2 separate regions of the Homo sapiens genome follow, and region 2 is linked to region 1. The links are contacts of gene promoters, found by promoter capture Hi-C in blood cells and fetal thymus (Javierre and others, 2016). All regions are on one chromosome and are shown on one strand. Each heading gives the region's core, a stretch centred on a gene start or on the middle of the fragment in contact. The rest is flanking DNA. Distances are from core to core; before and after follow the strand shown.

Region 1 (2,672 bases), core at 173-2,672:
CGGAACAAATGTGGAGGGCTTAACATGTGCTGCTGGGAACACCCACCCACTTTAATCAGTTTCATTCTCTTGTCAACATTAGAAGAAATCTTTAGTCCTATTTTACCGATTGGGCAACCAAGGCCAGAGAGGCTAAGTCATTTACTTTAGGACATACAGCTGGTAATTATGGAGTTAGGATTGCAAGATGCAGCAAAATAAAATAAAGGACATCCAATTATATTTGGGTTCTGAGTAAACAATGTAAAAAAAATAGTGAAAGTATATCCCATGTAAAATTTCAGACTTATACTAAAAATTTAACTGGGCATCCTGTATTTTACCTGGCAACTGTTGAGGAGATTCAAATTCAGTTCTCTTTGTTATTTCCCAGACACCCCTTACTATGGGACATATATAATACTGTAGAATATGTGATCAGTACCAGCAGATACTGGTTGAGTTCAGGCCTCAAGCTTTATATCTGCCATTTTGCTTGAAACCCTTTAATCCTTATATCACCTATCCAGTAGGTATTATCATTGTTCCCATTTTATGGATGAGGAAACTGAGGCTCCTTAAGATGAAATAACTTGGTCACGGTGACACAACCAGAAAGTACTAGAGCCCATGCTTGAACCCAGTTCTGTTTTGCTCAAGAATGGTCTCTCAAAAAAAAAAAAAAAAAAGAAACACAAAAAAACAAAAAACAGTTAAGATTTAACCCATGTACAGAAAAGCACTTGATATGTAAATGTACAGTACAACGACTTGTCACAAACACCTGTGCAGCCACCAGCCAGATCAAGAAAGAAAAGATGTCCAGCTCCCGTTAGATGCCCTGCCCCGTCATGAGAAGGGCTCTTCTGCCAGAGCTTCTCTGGGAATTCTTTGACTACGGGCATTACTGTCCCCATTTTACAGATGGGGACACAAAGGTTCAGAGAGGTGCTGTGACTTGCCCAAGGTCACAGAGATTGGAAAGCAACAGGCTCAGAGAGGGCGAGTGATCACCCAGAGGTTACACAGCTAAAACTTACCACCTGTTAAAACTACAAACTAAATACCAAAAACCGAAACTGCGCTTTATTGGGTGTTTACTATTTGTGAGGCACCGTGCTAAGCTTCTTGGTCGACAACAGTAGCAGCAGCAGCAAGCACTCTGCCATTTGGGGTGCATACTCCCCATGTCAGGCAGCTTGGCACTTTGCGTAATCCGCTCAGTGAATTTTTCCAGCGACCCTATGGTTTGGGCTTGGGTCTCGAACCCATTTTACAGAAGAGGACACTGAGGCCGGAAGGCTGAGGCCCCTGCCCGATATGCTCAGCCGGCCTGGCACCGGCTATGCCCGGCTCCCCGGGAGGCTGCGGGAGGGCCAGGTGGCATGCAAGGAGTTAAGCGGTAGGCAGTGCTGTGGCTCCGTGCGAGGAGCGCGCCGGGCTGAGGCGCGCTGCTGGTGGCGGCGGCGGCAGCGGCGCGGGAGCTAGGGCTGGAGACGTGAAGTCCAGGGGAGCGAGCAAGGCAGCCAAGGAGGCAGCGGCGAGGCAGCGAGAGAGAGCCAGGCGGCCGGAGCTCCGCGCCGAGCCGCAGCCGGTGCCCTGCGCGCACCGGGCCCGGGCATCTCCATCCCCGGGGCGGGTGCCCGCGCGGGGCCTCGCCGCGGCTCGGGGCACCCGCAGTGCCGCCCGCCCGAGCGCCAGGCTCACAGGAGCCCGGCTTTCACTTCCTCTCGCTTCCGCCCGCCTCCCTGGCTCGCCGGCTGGCGTCGCCACCGCCTCCTCGTCCCCGGCCACCGCTGTCGCCGCTGCTGCAATTCAAGGCGCACACTATCCCACTTTCCCGCTGGAGGCGCAGAGGATGCCCCTTGAGCCAGACCTGGAGAAATAGCCCCAGGGCCCGGCAGGAGGAGCCTTGGTGGCGAGAAAGGAAATCCAGGCTCCCCTTTCCTTAAAGCCACTGCAGCAGCTGGGAAGGCGCCCACAGAGCGGGCGCGCCAAGCGGGACGCGGGAGTCGCAGAGAGGGACCCCGGGCGCCTGCTGAGCTCAGCTGGCAGAGTTTGCAAGTGGCGGAGACCCTTCAGGTAAGGACTCAGGTGCCTGGACCTGGGAAGAGGGCTCCAGGAGGGAGCCGGGCGCGGAGCTGGTGCGAAATGTCTTCTGCCCCTAGATCTGGGCTTCGCTTTCCAGACGCTTCCCCGCAGGTTGGGGGCTCGTCGTCCAGAGCCCGGCGAGTGAGGAACCCAGAGTGGTGACAGCCCAGCTCTGCGTAGATGACAAACTTTCTCTCCTCTGGCAGAGGGTGGGACATTCCGGCTCATCCAGGCATCCTTCCTCTGGGCATTCCTGTGCCCCCTACAGGCATGCATTCAAGGGCTTCTCCCGCGGAGGTGGGCCAGCGGGGAGGCAGTGGGCCCCGTAAATTTGATTTATGAATCACCCTCTTTCTGGCCAGTGCAGAGTTCCAAGGGAGAGGGAGCTAGTCATATTTCCAAGTTGGCTGTAGAAGATGTTTCTTGGGGGTGATACTCTGGTGAATAAGGCTGCCTGTCATCTGATGCCAACAGCCAGAGCTGCCCAGGCAATGGGCTTTGTGTAGGGTGCCTTGCAGATTTGCTTATGTCCATTCTGGGGTGTGTGTGTGTGTGTGTGTGTGTGTGTGTGTGTGTGTGTGTGTGTAAAGAGAGAGAGGGAA
Region 2 (2,672 bases), core at 80-2,579, 320 kb after region 1:
TCAACATGGAGAAACACCATCTCTACTAAAAAAAAAAAAAAAAAAAAAAAAAAAAATTACAAAAAATTAGCTGGGCGTGGTGGTGCATGCCTGTAATCCCAGTTACTTGGGAGGCTGAAGCAGGAGAATCACTTGAACCTGGGAGGCAGAGGTTGCAGTGAGCCAAGATCACACCATTGCACTCCAACCTGGGCAACAAGAGTGAAATTCCGTCTCAAAACAACAACAAAGACAACAACAACAGAACTTGAACTTCGTATTCTATGCAAAAAAGGAAAAAACCTAAGAGAAAAAAAAAAGAATACATAAGGAATATGGTTTCTCAATTTAAAAACATCCCCCTTCCAACACCATCTTCCATCCCTAACATTCTTTTTTTTTTTTTTTTTTTTTTTTGAGGTGGAGTCTCACTCTGTCGCCCAGGCTGGAGTGCAATAGCACAAACTTGGCTCCGTGTAACCTCTGCCTCCCAGATTCAAGTGATTCTCCTGCCTCAGCCTCCCAAGTAACTGGGATTACAGGCATGTGCCACCACGCCCCGCTAATTTTTTGTATTTTTAGTAGAGATGGGGTTTCTCTATGTTGACCAGGCTGGTCTTGAACTCCTGATCTCAAGTGATCCGCCTGCCTCAGCCTCCCAAAGTGCTGGGATTATAGGTGTGAGCCACCACACCCGGCCCATCCCTGTCATTCTTAATAAGAAGATAGATTTAGGACCTAATTTTAACTATTCAGAAAGCTTTTAGATGTATGCCTTGCTTAGGTTTCTCTGGCAACTCCCCAAGCCTGCATCAGCTTAGCATCTAATCCATTGAGATCTCCCTATGGGGCTGAGGTCCCTGTCACAGGGTGCCCTAAATACAGAGAAGGCCTAGGTGAAATTTACACATGACACAGTTATGGTCTTGCGTGATCTTTCACTTTTGTCTTTTTGTAAACCTTGATTTATTTTGCTTCCCTTGGCACATTATCTCCCTTTCCAGATATTTTTGCAATGGATATTGTATTCTTCAAGACTTTCTTGATTGCGAATGGGAGAAACTAAATTAGCCAAAGGTGGAATTCATTATAAGTATTCAATAAATGTTTGCTGTTGCTGCTGTCCGGCTGTTGTTATTGAAGGCAGGATTTGCCTGGGTTTTGGGAACAGCTGGATCCAGGAATTTGTACATTCTCAAGAAATTTCTTAATCTCTATCTGCTGCTTCTCTCTGCTCCTGTTTCAATGAAGTCGCTTTCACTTGTGAGACTCAAGTCAAACCAAGTTTAGCAAAAAAAAAAGTAGGGAGGAAATACTGGCTCAGATAACTGAAAACCCCGGAGGCTAGCTTCAGAAACTACTTCATATTGGTGCTAAAACTATGTAAATTACATAATCACCCAGGAAGCGAGGGCGTGCAGCCAGATCTATCGAACCAAATGAACACAGAGTGGGAAAAGAGTCATCCCTGCAAAGGTAAATCTGGGTTTTGTCACCCAAAAAAAGGTAGAAATAACACACACACCCCAGTCTTCTCTCTCTCTATTCTCTTCTCTCTTTCTCTCTCCCACTCTCCCTCTCTCATTTTGCCCTCTCTTGCTTGGAAACTGGCTTCTTCTGGCATTCTGATCTTTATGATAGGAAATAATGTCTGCCAAGAGATCCCAGATCCCAAATTAGCCTGACTCTCTCCATTTCAAGCCCAAAAGACTCAGTGAAGGGTCTGGTATCAGTTATCTACTGCTGCACAATGAATTACCCAGAAATGGTAAGGTTTACAACAACACCATTTGTTATCTCACTTCATGTCTTGCAGGTCAGGAATCCAGGGGCAGCTTAGCTGGGTGGTTATGGTTCAGTGTCTCCCATGCCAGAAATCATCTTATGAAAAAAAAAAATAGAATTATGCGACCCCAAACTCACTATGCCAAAGGGAAAGTTAAGCTTGGGAATTGAGCCACCAATACTGTCTTCCTTTTGTTCCCAAACAGACAGCTGGAATTTCACAACCCAAACCATGAGCTCATTTCCTCTACTCCCTCTTTTCATGTTTATCTTATGTAAAATGTAGATTTACTGAGAGGGAGATAATACATAATTGACTTTTTCCTCTACTCCCTCTTTTCACATGTATAATGTTGATTGATTGATTGACTGATTTTTTTGAAACAGAGTCTTGTTCTGTTGCCCAGGCTGTAGTGCAATGACACAATCTTGGCCCACTGCAACCTCCACCTCCAAGGTTCAAGCGATTCTCCTGCCTCAGCATCCTGAGTAGCTGGGATTACAGCTACACACCAGATAAGTTTTGTATTTTTAGTAAAGACAGGGTTTTGCCATGTTGGCCAGGCTGGTCTGGAACTCCCAGCCTCAAGTGATCCACCTGCCTCAGCCTCCCAAAGTGCTGGGATTACAGGTATGAGCCACTGTGCCCCGCCTAAAATTTGGATTTATTGAGACTAATCAGGGCTTCACAAGAATGTAACCATCTACCTCACTGCATATCTCCCTCCCTTCCTCTCCTGCCTCCCACTCCTTGCTCTTTCTCCTTTAAAAACCAAAGTGCACACAAAGCCCCCTTTGGAGAAAAGCAGAGATCACAGATGCTCCTCCGATTTCTGTTTGTCCAGGGTGCATCCTCAACCTTGGCTAAATAAACCTCTAATGGCCTCAGTCACTTTTTGGTTAACAAT

Evidence for each region. Contacts are between HindIII fragments. The CHiCAGO score rates a contact against its expected background, and 5 or more counts as called.
Region 2: a contact is called between a fragment that was not itself captured here and the fragment with the promoter of WSCD2 in region 1, in 1 of 17 cell types (endothelial precursors). The highest score is 7.1, in endothelial precursors.

The regions. Positions count from the first base shown.
Region 1 is chr12:108,127,866-108,130,537 of GRCh38, forward strand. It overlaps WSCD2 (WSC domain containing 2), which reads left to right and starts at 1,423. Exons shown (of 9, transcript NM_014653.4): 1 at 1,423-2,061. RefSeq lists a silencer at 1,644-1,733. The HindIII fragment of the contact is 4,828 bases long and covers 1,102-2,672 here.
Region 2 is chr12:108,445,661-108,448,332 of GRCh38, forward strand. No RefSeq gene overlaps it. Among named protein-coding and RNA genes, the nearest start is that of LINC01498, 27 kb to the right of the region's middle. The HindIII fragment of the contact is 1,184 bases long and covers 738-1,921 here.